2 separate regions of the Homo sapiens genome follow, and region 1 is linked to region 2. The links are contacts of gene promoters, found by promoter capture Hi-C in human tissues and cell types (Jung and others, 2019). All regions are on one chromosome and are shown on one strand. The core of a region is centred on a gene start or on the middle of the fragment in contact, and the rest is flanking DNA. Distances in the headings are between cores, read along the strand shown. Region 1 overlaps PCBP2 (poly(rC) binding protein 2). Region 2 holds the start of SPRYD3 (SPRY domain containing 3).

Region 1 (7,134 bases), core at 468-2,967, 400 kb before region 2:
TTTTTTTTTTTTTTTTTTTTTTTTTTTGAGACAGAGTCTTGCTTTGTCACCCAGGCTGGAGTACAGTGGCGCGGTCTCGGCTCACTGCAAGCTCCGCCTCCCAGGTTCACGCCATTCTCCTGCCTCAGCCTCCCGAGTTGCTGGGACTACAGGCGCCCACCACCATGCCCAGCTAATTTTTTTATGTTTTTAGTAGAGTCGGGGTTTCACTGTGTTAGCCAGGATGGTCTTGATCTCCTGACCTCGTGATCCACCCGCCTCGGCCTCCCAAAGTGCTGGGATTACAGGCGTGAGCCACCGTGCCCGGCAGGGGATATTTAGTTCTTAAAAGGGGGGTAGATTCGTGCCAATTTCAAAACACAATGATCTAAGGAAAGGTAAACAATAGCCCTGGATTAAAGGGTTCAGTAAGAACTGAAGGTCTAAGAAAGGAACTGCTAGATACCATTAGATCTAGGACCTGAAAATTTAAGTTCATAAAAATTGGTGGTAGCACTCTGGCCCCACCAGAGCTCTGAAAGAAATGTTCTGAATGTGTATCAAGCCCGAATGGGGATTTGCTGGGGTGGGGGAGGTGACGCAGGGAGAAGGGGATGCTATGAAATACTGAGTCAGGTACTCTAGGATAAAAGACCACATGGGGGAGCTCTAGGGTTTAAAAAAATTTAAAACTGAGGCCCTTTGGAGGTAGTGATGGTAGCTAGACCCTTAAACATGTGGAATCCTTCCTTGGGGAATAGCCATTAGGTTAAGAGGCCTTCCAATCAAGAACTAGATAAAACCACATCCCTGGGGGGAGATGGTATCAGCATGATTAAGTCCTAACTACAGGAGGAGCAAGCTTACCAAGGGAGAGAGCTGGACCACATGATAAAGGAGCAACTAAATAAAACTCCTTACTGGACAGGTTTGGCCATCTAATCCTTTATGCATACTTGAGACGTGTAACACTTCTTCACAGGCCCAATCTGGGATGGAGGGGCCAAAATAACATCAAAGAATGAGATAATATATTGGAATACTAACAGCTTTTTTTTTTTTGTCAGCCAATGGTGATGCTGGGAAAAGGTCATCAGGGAAACTATCTCTACACTGAGTTCTCTAATGCCCTGGGAAGAGCATTACACTTTCAGCACTGTGGCAACGTGTACTCTCGTTGAATGGAAGGCTATCAGAGGCCTTATACCACCATACTAAGAACATTTCTACTGTTTTATGAGAGGCCTGTGCCCATCTTAGTATAAGAAAATGAACAAGATTTCAGGGAGGTTAGTACGATTGAGTAAAAGTAAAGCTTAAGTTGTTAGTCCTGGCTAGTCACTCATAACCTATGAATTTAAATTATCTTAGGGCCTCTATTTTTTAATCTGTAAAATGAGGGGATCAATGTGTTACAGATTAGTTGATCCTTAAGGTTCCTTCCAAATCTAAGCATGTCACTTCCTACTCCTGATAGTGCTGGTGGGGAGCAGAAAGGATACGGCCAGGAATAGAAAAAAGGGTAAAGAAACTTGGTTGACAGAGTTGGTTTAGGACTAGTGGATGGCATCATGTCAAGTTGTGGATAATGTCACGGGTTGGCTGAGATATACCTAATGTCACAGAAAGAGGCATAATGCTAATTCAGAGGAATGCAGACAGAAGCTGCCTAATTTTATTAGACTTATCCCACTTTGCCCCTCCCCTTCATTCTGGGTAAAGAAGTATGTTCTTTGAATGTATGACTTGGAAGAGATCCTCATGGTAACCATTCACCAGAGGAATCCTGGGATGAACACCTTGTTAGCTGCTGCTGGCAAGGTAAGGCCATCTGAGAAGTCAGATAAACTTCCTCACTAGTGAAGCTTGTTGCCAATTACAGAGGACCTTCAGGATCTAAACTGCCACAGACTCGTTATCTCTTTGTGGAAATATTGACAAACGACTATAAAATTCACTTGGGATTCAAAAAGCCCATGTCAGTTATACAGGCTTCCTAGCTGAATAGCCACAAGTCACAAGCCCCCAACCCTTTACCCTTCACAGCACACAGTGTACTAAGGTTCTTACTGCGCCAACTTTATTACAGCTAGAAACACAAATATGGCCAAGAAGGCCTGCTGATAGCTTAACCATTAAATAATTCTTAAAAAAAAAAAAAAAAGTTAACGAAGCAGCTTTTATTCATTAACACAGAGCCTAACACATTGTTATATTGCAAGGCAGAATAAAGCTACAAAGAAAAGTAACAAACAAGAAAGAAGAGAAAACTGTGGCTCTAGATAAAGAATTCAAGTCAGACCCTGAAACAGGCACTCAGCTGAAATGGCCTAAACCTAAACAAGGGTTACCACTCCCCCACCCCCACCCAGTTATCCCCCAAAGTAGTAAAAAGGAAACGGTAACAAGCTCACAATAGTTTCATTCTCACCAATGTTAACAAAGGAAAACAAAATGAACAAAATAATACTGGAGGAGGTGCCTCAAGGTATGCAATCAGTAGGGAGAGAATCTCTGTTTCTCGCCTTTCAGTTTGTTAGTTACACATGGCACGGCAGAGGTGGTGGTGGTGGTAGCTGAAGCCCCGGTACCCTTAGCAGCAGACACAACATTTAGAGCCAGGAGAGGGATGGGTTTCATGCCAAGCAGACTGGAGACACAAGGGGCGGTCGGAAGAGGGTTGGGGAGGCTGGAGGGTGCGTCGGAGGTCCCCGCTGTGGCGAGCGAGGGGGTGGTGGTGGAGGAGGAAGAAGAAGAAGGGGTGGAGGGTTGAGAGAGGTTGATGCTGAGGTGATCAGGGATCGTGACGGAGGCTGCCTGGGAGGAGGGTTTAGCGTTTTCTAAACTGTAACAGAGGAAAAAAGGAACAAAAAAAAAGGGTGGGTGGAAGGGAAGACCACAAAAGGGAGTAAGTACAGGACAAAAACTGCTTCAGTTATATCAGTAAGTGCCTCTGGTTGACAATTAGGAAGACCTAGTGTCAACTTGTGACAAGCTTTCTTTTAGCCTATGTCCCACCCTCTAAATATGTATATTTCCATTCCACAGAGCTACTTAAAAACTGCTATGGTGAAGAAAAAGCTGACAGAGAAAAGAAATCATAGGGCACATACTTCATGTATCTGACACACTGACCCAACCCAGATGTTGAAGGAATGATTTCGGGTAGAAAAAGATACTCATCAATCACCCAACAAGGAAGAAATGTTTCCTCTAATCAAATGTCAATTTCCTATTCTAACAGAAAATCAATTATCCCACAATTACTTGTGAAGCTTTGAATATTTATAAAGCAGAATTTTTAAAAATCCTTCCAGCTATGTATTAAAGTCTGCTTACATCTCCACAGCAAACAAACCAGTATCAGGGTGGAAAGAGACAAGAGTCCAAAGTAGGTCACTGACTAATTTCAAATTTCAAAGAATGTAGCGTTTTCAAAGAAAAATGCTGAGAACAGAAGTGTAGATAAGAACTAGGGAAGCTTTTCTGGTGGGAGGTGGTATAAAAAGTTGTTTCTGACTGATCATACTTCTAATGTGGACCTTTCAGAAGTGGAAAAGAGAAACTCAAGTATCACCTAAAAATTCATACTTAAGCGAAAATGCTGCTGCTTCCACTCCCAAAATAAGCTCCACAGAACAGTAAGGGTACATGTCTCCCAAATGCCTGTATGTGTCTAAGCCAGAACTACATATATTTGGGAAGTGTGCCTGGACAATTGAGCCCACAACGCTAAGTCTTCAAGAGCAGAAAGGCTCCTCTTAAAACCTCATTTTATTTACCTATGTCCAAGGACAGCTGCAATCCATAAAGGAAAGGGATACAGAAGTCAACTAACTATATAAAAGGACAGACTGCCACCATGAAAAATCAAGAGACAGGAGAAAATGCTCAGAATCCAGTAAAATCCTTCTTGACTTAAAAAAAATGAGAAAGGAAAAAAAAAAAAACCCTTTGACTTCTGCATTTAAACTGCACCAAGTTGAGAAAGAATAAGCTTTGTGCATGCATAATCTTTGCTTTGGTGTTAGATGAAGCTTTGAAAAGTTTTGACCCTAATCCATGGCTAAGATACCGAATTGCTATTCAGTAACAATGATCCTGAAAAGAGCCACTCTACCAAGAGAATTCTGCTTCCTTACAATGTAGCCACTGACCTATTGCAGGAGCTAGGCAAGCAGGTCACATTTAAACAGTCACAATTTAAATTACATGAAGGGCAAGCCTATCGAAAGAACAAAACAAATTCCAGCTTTCAAAAACCTGATTCTTGCCACTGAAAACTGAAAACTTCTTGCCCTCCAAAATCCTAATTACAAATAAGAAAAACAAGCTGGGCATAGTGGCTCACGCCTGTAATCCCAGCACTTTGGGAGGCCGAGGCAGGTGGATGACAAGGTCAAAAGATCGAGGCCATCCTTGCCAACATGGTGAAACCCCGTCTATACTAAAAATACAAAAATTAGCTGGACGTGGTGGCACGTGCCTGTAAGTCCCAGCTACTTGGGAGGCTGAGGCAGGAGAATCACTTGAGCCCAGGAGGCAGAGGTTGCAGTGAGCCGAGATGGAGCCACTGCACTCCAGCCTGGTGACAGAGCAAGACTCCGTCTCAAAAAAAAAAAAAAGAAAGAAAAACAATTCTTGTAATCCCAGCACTTTGGGAGGCATATCACTTGAGGTCAGGAGTTGGAGACGAGCCTGACCAACATGAAACCCTATCTCTAAAAAAGAAAAAGACCTCTTTGCAAACAACCTTGGTGCAAAAGTTTACTACTACCATTTCATTCTCAACATTAAGGACCTAGTGTGCTTGGTGGGTGGACAAGAAAACAAATCTAGGAAAGGGAAAGCTTTTCTACACAAAGAGTAGTAGCACCTCAAGATATGAAGTCTTAAGGCAAAAGTCAGACTGCTACTGGGGAAATGGTATGTTCTTAGCTAGCACTAAATAACCATAGCATATATACATGGTCAGTACAAGCACAATACAGACCACATACTTAGGAATTCCTTTCCCCTGTACTAGATTCAGGAACTCATGTAAAACTTTTATGACAAAGAGATTAAACACTTATAAGAAAGGTAAATGATAACTAGACAACATTCCCTATTAAAAGAGACCTAAGGGCCTCAAGGCTAACAATGCTTTGAAATATTAGTAAGCAATTAAGGGTGTGACTTCAGCCCATGAGTTGAGAAAGCAAGTAATATAAATGACTGTAGGATCCCATTTGACTGTGAACAGTGTCCTAAAATTGAGAGTAGTAACACTACCTAGCTATGGATAAGGGAAATAAAACCCTCAGGAAGTCATTAAGGGATGAGATTGGGGGAGGAGTGAGATAGAAAACACACTTCACACTTCCGAAACATTCCAATACCTGTGCTTCCCACATTCCCACAAGCTCTGAATAAAACACACATGCAGTGTGAGAAAAATGGGTGTTTCCAGAATAAATGGTAATTGCTGCCTCCCAGAAACTGCCTTGCTGTCCTATTACTCCAATGTCCTTATTACAATTAAGGGTGCTTTGGACTCCAAATCAAATCAGTGAAAGAAATAGTAGTCTATATGCTATGTAGAACAAGAGAGACCCACATTTGATTTTGTGAGTGCTCTAGCCAGAGGACTCTTACTGAAGACAAGGACCACTCTTCCCTCTTACCAAACCATCAAGTTAAATGCGGGCAATCTGTGCTCCCCCCCCCACCAACCCCTTGAAAACTTACTGCAGTTTACTTTTTCTGCTACACTCTAAGAAAGTAGAGCTAGCAAAAAAAAAAAAAAACCTTTTGGCCATCTTTACCCATCGCCCATGTAATCCCATATTTAATACACTGCAGCTCTCCCCAACACACACATTACTGTGTTGGCATAAATAAGACAAAAGGTAGAGCAATCTTACCTGACATTGATTAGATATTGAGCCAGGCTAATGCTGGCAGCAGATCCAGTGATGGTAACCTGCCTATCAGTAGATCCTTCCACTGGGTTCGCAATTTTGATCTGCGCCCCAGACATCTGACGGATCTCATTGATTTTGGCGCCTTGACGCCCGATTATGCAGCCAATCAACTTAAGGGAGAAAGAAAAACAAGGCACACCGAATTAGAGTTGCATGGCTAGGTCTAAGAATCCCACCCCCCCACCCCAAATCCTACGACTGTGGCCAGGCTGGAGTGCAGTGGCCTGATCTTGGCTCACTGTGCAACCTCAGCCTCCTGGATTTGAGCAATTCACCTGCCTCAGCAGGACTACAGGCGCATGCCACCATGCCCAGCCAATTTTTGTATTTTTAGTAGAGACGGGGTTTCACCATGTTGGCCAGGATGGTCTCAATCTCTTGACCTTGTGATCCACCCACCTTGGCCTCCCAAAGTGCTGGGATTACAGGTATAAGCCACCGAACCTGGCCCTTTAAAAAAAAAAAAAAAAACCGAGGGTCTCGCTATGTTGCTCAGGCTAGTCTCAAACTCCTTGGTTTAAGCCATTTTCGAATCTCAGCCTCTGTATCTCTGTGCTCCCTGTAACCTGGGATTACAGGTGTATACCGCCATGCCCAATTTCATCCTACACCCTTTACTCATACACTTTTGATCAAAAAACTCAACTCTTGACCCATTTTTCAGTCTGACCACCCATGGTGAGTGACAGCCAGTTCTGAGCCAACTCAGAACTGTCTTTTAGGTCCAAGAGACATAATACTCTTAGGTCCAAGTATTAGCTCTTCATTATTTCTGTCCTCAGAATATTACTTCCAAAGACAAAGCAGAGCCAAAACAAAAATAAATTTAGACAGCTAGAAATAGATAAAGGTAGAAATACATTCTGTTTCTGGCAGCAAATATGCTTAAAGTCATCCTGCCATGATTACCACCCTCCTATACCGACAAGAATTCTGGCCAATTCCTAAGGTGTTTTTGCCTTGGGAAAAGGTGGAAAAAAAAAAAAAAAAACTGGTTAACATTTGCACTAATACTGTAAAAAATATGACCCTGGACAGCACAGATCTGATGTTCATGAACCACTACACTATGGTGGGGGACCGTGGCTCATGCCTGTAGGCTGAGGCAGGCCAATCACTTGCGTTCAGGAGTTTCATGGCGAAACTCTTGTCTTTACAAAAAAAATACAAAAAAAGTTAGCCAGGGATA
Region 2 (6,703 bases), core at 3,357-5,856:
AGCGATTCTCCTGTCTCAGCCTCCCTAATAGCTGGGATCACAGGTGTGTGCCATCACACCTGGCTAATTTTTTATATTTTAGTAGAGACAGGGTTTCACCATGTTGGTCAGGCTGGTCTCAAACCTGAGCTCAAGCAATCCACCCACCTCTGCCTCCCAAAGTGCTAGGATTACAGGCGTGAGCCACCATGCCCAGCCCGTTTTTTTTTTTTTTTAGAGGGAATTTCACTCTTGTTGCCCAGGCTGGAGTGCAATGGTGCAATCTCGGCTCACCGCAACCTCAGCCCCCTTGGTTCAAGCGATTCTCCTGCCTCAGCCTCCCGAGTAGCTGGGATTACAGGCATGCGCCACCACGCCTGGATAATTTTGTATTTTTAGTAGAGATGGGGTTTCTCCATATTGGTCAGGTTGGTGTCGAACTCCCGACCTTGACCTCAGGTGATCTGCCCACCTCGGCCTCCCAAAGTACTGGGATTACAGTTGTGAGCCACTGCACCCGGCAGAACTTTTTTTTTTTTTTGAGGTAGGGTCTCACTCTGTTGTCCAGGCTGGAGTGCAGTGGCAGCACAACCATGGCTCACTGCAACCTCTGCCTCCTGGGCTCAAGTGATCCTGCCATCTTAGCCTCCCAAGAAGCTAGGATTACAAGTGTGTGCCAACAGACTGGCTAATTTTTAAATTTTCTGTAGAGACCAGGTCTCACTGTATTGCCAGGGCTGGTGTTGAACCCCTGGGTTTGAGCAATTCTCCCTGCCTTGGCCTCCCAAAGCACTGGAATTACAGGTGTGAGCCACCATGCCCAGCCTGAACAACTCCGTTAAAAACATGAGAAGACAAGCTGCAGACTAGAAGAAAATATTTGTAAAGCACATATCTGATAAAGAATTTGAATCTAGAATATATAAAGACTTTCAAAATGCAATAAGAAACAATTTTTTGAAATGAGCAAGTGATTTAATCAGATACTTCACCAGAGAAGATATATGGATGACAAATAAGCATATGAAAAGATGCTCAACCTCGTTAGTCATTAGGGAAATGGAAATCAAAAGTGAAATGAGATACCACTTCACACTAAGTGGCTATAATCAAAAAGAGATAATAACAAGTGTTGTTGAGTATGTAGACAAATTGGAACCCTCATACACTGTGATACCTACCTATTAGGAAGGCTGAAAGTAAAAAGAATAACCATACCAAGTGATGGCAAGGATGTGGAACAACTAGAACACTCACACACTGCTGATAGGAATGTAAAATGATACAACTACTTCTGAAAACAGTGTGATGCTTTTTAACCAATTAAGAACCGTACATCTACCATGTGACTGAGCCATTCACTCCTAGATATTTACTTAAGAGAAAATGACACTTTGGGAGGCCAAGGTGGGCAGATCACGTGAGGTCAGGAGTTCTGGACCAGCCTGGCCAATACGGTGAAACCCCATCTCTACTAAAAATACAAAAAAAAAAAAATTAGCCAGGCGTGGTGGCACATGCCTGTAGTCCCAGCTACTTGAGAGGCTGAGGCACAAGAATCACTTGAACCTGGATGGTGGAGGTTGCAGTGAGCCAAGATCATGCCACTGCCCTCTAGCCTGGGTGACAGGGTGAGACTCCATCTCAATAAAAAGAAAAAGAAGATGAAATATGTCCATACAAAGACTTGTACATGAATATTCATCATAGCTTTATTTGTAATAGCCAAAAACTGAAAAAATCCAAATGTCCATCAACAAGTGAATAAATAAATTGTAATATATTCCAACAATAGCATACTATTCAGCAATAAAAAGGAACAATCGAGAGGCCAAGGTGGGAGGATCACTTGAGGCCAGGAGTTTGAAGTTGCAATAAGCCTTGATCACGCCATTGCTCTCCAGCCTGGGCAACAGAGCAAGACCCTGCCCCAAATAAATAAATAAATAAAAACTATTAACACAAACAACAATATGGATGAATCTCTCAAGGTAATTACGCTGAACAAAAGAAGCCAGACACATCCCTCCTCAAAGAGGATTTACTGTATGATTCCACTTACATAAAATTCTAGGAAATGCTAACTAAGATAGTGACAAAAAGGCAGATTAGTGGGCTGGGCGCGGTGGCTCATGCTTGTAATCCCAGCACTTTGGGAGGCTGAGGCAGGAGTTCAAGACCAGCCTGGCCAACATAGTGAAACTCCGTCTCTACTAAAAATACAAAAATTAGCCAGGCGTGGTGGCGGGCATCTATAATCCCAGCTACTTGGGAAACTGAGGCAGGAGAATCCCTTCAACCCGGGAGGTGGAGGTTGTAGTGAGCCAAGATTGCCCCATTGCTCTCCAGCCTGGGCGACAGAGTGAGACTCTGTCTCAAAAAAAAAAGTTTCAAAAAGCAGATTAGTGGTTCCTAGGGATGAAAGAGTGAGAGAGAGGGATTATAAAGGAGCATGAGGAAATTTTTAGGGATGATGATGATATGGTCACTATCTTGGGTGTGGTGACATTTTCATTTTCATAGGTATATAAGTAGCTTATCAAATTGTATACCTTGGCTAGGTGCAGTGGCTCATACCTGTAATCCTCGAACTTTGGGAGGCTGAGGTGGGAGGGTTGCTTGAGCTCAGGAGTTTGAGACTAGCCTGGGCAACACAGTGAGACTTCGTCTCTAATTAAAAAAAGAAAGGAATAAATTGTACACCTTAAATATATATGGTTTATTGTATGTCGGTTATATGGCAATAAAGTTGTTTATTCAAATACATGTAGACACCAAACACAAATTACCAACTGGGTCCTGAGCATGCCAATGGATGGAGAATTCGCCAAAAAGGTGAGCCCCACATCTGGAACTTAAAGGTGAGGAAATCCCGAGTGGAATCACCAACCATCAGTAACAGTTTGGAAATGCCTTCTTCTGCCATTTCTCTCCATGTCTGACCCTAGCCACCTAGCTAGTTAGTTTCTGGAATGAGCCCTGGTCTGGGATGAACATGACTCTGGCAGCCTCCTAAGATTGTCCCTCTCTGGCTGCCTTTGGGAAGAGCTGAGCTCAGTGTTGAGGTATTTTCATAACACAAGAAGAGGAGCGGAGGAGAAGCAATGAGGGAATCAAAAGGAGGTGGAGATGAGTTGGAAGGGTAGCTATTCAGAACTGAGTCATCCAGGGGCTGGAAGGGAGCTAAAAGAACACATACTTCAATAATTCTTGTTTAGGGATGAGAACACCAAGACCTTGACCTTTTAGTCACACAGAATTGGGGCTCTAATCCGGGTTTCTCTGTTTCCCATCTCATCTATTCCTATCACCCATTGCCGTTATGCCGAGTGGGCACTATTCACGGTATGCGAGCTGATGGCTTTCCTGGCACTCAACACGTTAGAGTACCTAGTGTGATAAGAATAGAATAGTCTGGGGTCTGAAGGAGCTCACAGTCTAGCAGAGACGGGTCTACACACACAAGTAACTCCAATAACGAAAGCAAGACGGTAATAAGTGTTATAAATGGCGGGGGGCGGTGGCTCACGCCTGTAATCCCAACACTTTGGGAGGCCGAGGTGGGCGGATCAAGAGGTCAGGAGATCGAGACCATCCTGGCTAACACGGTGAAACCCCGTCTCTACCAAAAATACAAAAAAAATTAGCTTGGCGTGGTGGCGGGCGCCTGTAGTCCCAGCTACTTGGGAGGCTGAGGCAGGAGAATGGCGTGAACCCAGGAGGCAGAGCTTGCAGTGAGCCGAGATCGCGCCACTGCACTCCAGCCTGGGCGACAGAGTGAGACTCCGTCTCAAAAAAAAAAGTATTATAAATGAGGTGCTACAGAGGAGAGGAATCTTTTCCGTCCAGAAGAGAGAGATATGGTGATGGGAAGGGAGCAAGGAAGTCCTCATCTAGGAGTCCAACCCCCCAGAATGGCAGGTAGGCACTCCCTAGTAGGTGTTCAATAAATATTCGTGTCTTCGTCCCTTCACATTCTAACCCCAGTCTAACTTTCCTTCAGCCTACCAAAGCCCTGTGTTCCTCCACAGAATGCCGCTTCGTGCCACTGTGCCTTCTGCATCCCCAGTTCTCTCCTCCTGGAATGGAATGTTCTTGCCAATAATGAGCGAGCGGTGCCATGAAACAGAGCTCGGGAGGGTACACAGCATAACAGTTAAGCGCGCAGGCTATCGAGGCCAGCCTTCGGCCCATCCGTAAAAAGGAGATAAGATTTATTTCATAAGGCTGCACCGTGGATTAAATGGACATTCCGGTAAAGCTTTTATTTCAGTCCAGCGCGGAAGGAGGGCTCAAGTAATACTCGCAACGTTTGTGCGAGCGTGGCCACCTTCTCCGCCCGTCCCGTCTCCCCGGCGCCGCTCAAGAGCCGCCCCCTGTCCGCCTCAGCGGCGCCCAGGCACCCAGCAGCGTCCGCGCTGCCACGTCGCCTTCGCTCACCCCAGCAACAGCCGGGTTGACCAGACCGGGGCCCTGAGCTGGGTACCCAGGGCACCGGGCCGCGCCCCACACCCTGCCTGCGCCTTCCGATTGGCTCCTGCAGGTGCCCGTCGTCAGAGGCCGTTGCTGATTGGCTTAGATGGGGGACGGGGCGGGCCTCTAGGAGTGAAGGAAAGGCGGGGACCCGGATGTGTGTGGTGGCGGCGGCCGAAGAGCTTGTGTGCGGAGCTGAGAGGCCTATGGATGAGGAGGACGCGGCGGCCCCGGTAGGCGGGGATCGGGGGCGGGGTCCCGGAGGCCTCGTATCTCCCCGGAGCCTGAAGCGGAAGGCGGGGGTCCTGGGCGGGGGCTCTGGGGCCAGGGGCGGGGCCCTGCGCTCTGGTCACTGGGCTTCTTCTGTTGCTGCACCCTCGGCCCAGTGCAGGGCCTGGGGAGACTGGGCGTAGGCACACGGATGGGCTGGGGCCCGGCTGCTCCCGGGTCTCATCTCAGTGATCAGGCCGTGCCCGGGGAGGAGACAGGGCCCAGTAGGGCCGCCACTCGCCGGTGCCAAGACTGTGGGGTCTGCGCAACCAGCATCTACCTGGGGTTGAGTCCTGGCTGAGTGCCCGGGAGTGGAATCTTAGGGCTGTCTGTCCCACAGGTGCCTACTCTTCTGGGCCACGTGGTGGGTTGTAGCTACTGCATAAGAGTCGTAATTTGCGTATTGGGATCAAATTCAGCCCAGCCAAGGCTTACTAAGCACCTACCGTGTGCAAGGCAATGTCAGGCCTCAAGAAAACCCCTGTCCCAGTGTTTAGGGAATGGGAAGAGAAGAGTACTTCACCTCTTTCTCACTTTTGGCTCCCAGGAAAAATCATTCATTCATTTATATGTAGGGACTGATGGTTGTTTAAATACCTGGATCATCCCACCCCCATCCATCGGCGCTGCTACCGACTTAGTGGATGTCATTTCTCATGTGAACTGCTGCAACAACGTCTGAATTGTTTGCCCACATCTGTTCTTGATCCTCTTGTGATCAGTTCTCCAACCAGCAGCTGGAATGATCTTTAGGAACTGATTAAGATCGTGGCTTTTTTTTTTTTTTTTGAGATGGAGTTTCTGTCACCCAGGCTGGAGTGCAGTGGGACGATCTCGGCTCACTGCAAACTCCACCTCCCAGGTTCAAGCAATTCTCTTGCCTCAGCCTCCTGAGTAGCTGGGATTACAGGTGCGCACCACCACGCCTGGCTAATTTGTTTGTATTTTTAGTAGAGATGGGGTTTCACCATGTTGGTCAGGCTGGTCTTCAACTTCTGACCTTGTGATCCTCCCACTTCGGCCTCCCAAAGTGCTGGGATCACAGACGTGAGCCACCAGGCCCAGGATCATGGCATTTTTTTTTCTTTTTTTTTTGAGACAGGGTCTTGCTCTGTCAGCCAGGCTGGAATGTAGTGGCACAATCAGAACTGACTGCAGCCTTGACCTGCCAGACTCAAGCCATCTTCAGTCTCCTTAGTAGCTGGGACTACAGGTGCATGCTGCCACACCTGGCTCATTGTTTTAATTTTTAGTAGAGATGAGGTCTCACTACGTTGCCCAGGCTGGTCTGGGTCCTGGCCTCAAGCGATCCTCCTGCCTCAGCCTCCCAAGGTGCTGGGATTGCAGGCATGAGCCATCATACCCAGCCAATCATGGCATTTCCTTGCTTACAACCCTCCAGAAATTTCCATCTTGGAATAAAATCCAGAGTCCTTACCATTTCATTGTCTGTAGGGCCATGATCTGACTCCTGCCTTATTCTCATCTTGTACATTCTCCCTCACATTCCCTATATACCAGCTGTCCATGCCTTTTTCTGTTTCTCTACCATGCCAGCTCTCTTCCATCCAAGGACCTGTGGCTGCCCTTCCTGCCTGGAATATGCCTGGCTTGTCATGCCTAGCTCCTTTTCAACTCAAATGTCACCTCCTCAGAGAGACCGCCTCTGTCCACTCTATCCACTGCCTCCAGATTCTTTATCATATCACCCTGTTCTTTTCTCCACTGCCTGAAATTATGTCTGTTTATTGCCTGTCGTGTCCACCTCCCAGCCTGTGAGAATGGGAATCCTGTCCATCTTGTTCACAGCTCCATCCCTAGCACGGAGAAAAGCACACAGAGTAGGTGCTTGGTAAATGTTTGTTGAATGGAAGAAAGAAGATGAGGGTTGTTGAGGTCAATCTGGGCAGCTGGCCTCAAGGCCAGTGCCTTCTCTACCTTCTGGGTCACAGAGGCTGAGGTGCTTTACCTAGGGCCCTGC

Evidence for each region. Contacts are between HindIII fragments. The study calls those that stand out against the background at their distance.
Region 1: a fragment that was not itself captured here is called in contact with the fragment with the promoter of SPRYD3 in region 2 in 1 of the 25 tissues and cell types used here (dorsolateral prefrontal cortex).

The regions. Positions count from the first base shown.
Region 1 is chr12:53,470,559-53,477,692 of GRCh38, reverse strand. PCBP2 (poly(rC) binding protein 2) reads right to left here. Exons shown (of 15, transcript NM_031989.5): 14 at 5,886-6,055. Among named protein-coding and RNA genes, the nearest start is that of PCBP2-OT1, 9.7 kb to the right of the region's middle. The HindIII fragment of the contact is 4,559 bases long and covers 1-3,996 here.
Region 2 is chr12:53,077,293-53,083,995 of GRCh38, reverse strand. SPRYD3 (SPRY domain containing 3) reads left to right here and starts at 4,606. Exons shown (of 11, transcript NM_032840.3): 1 at 4,606-4,685. The coding sequence starts at 4,663. RefSeq lists a silencer at 4,626-4,905. The HindIII fragment of the contact is 7,407 bases long and covers 600-6,703 here.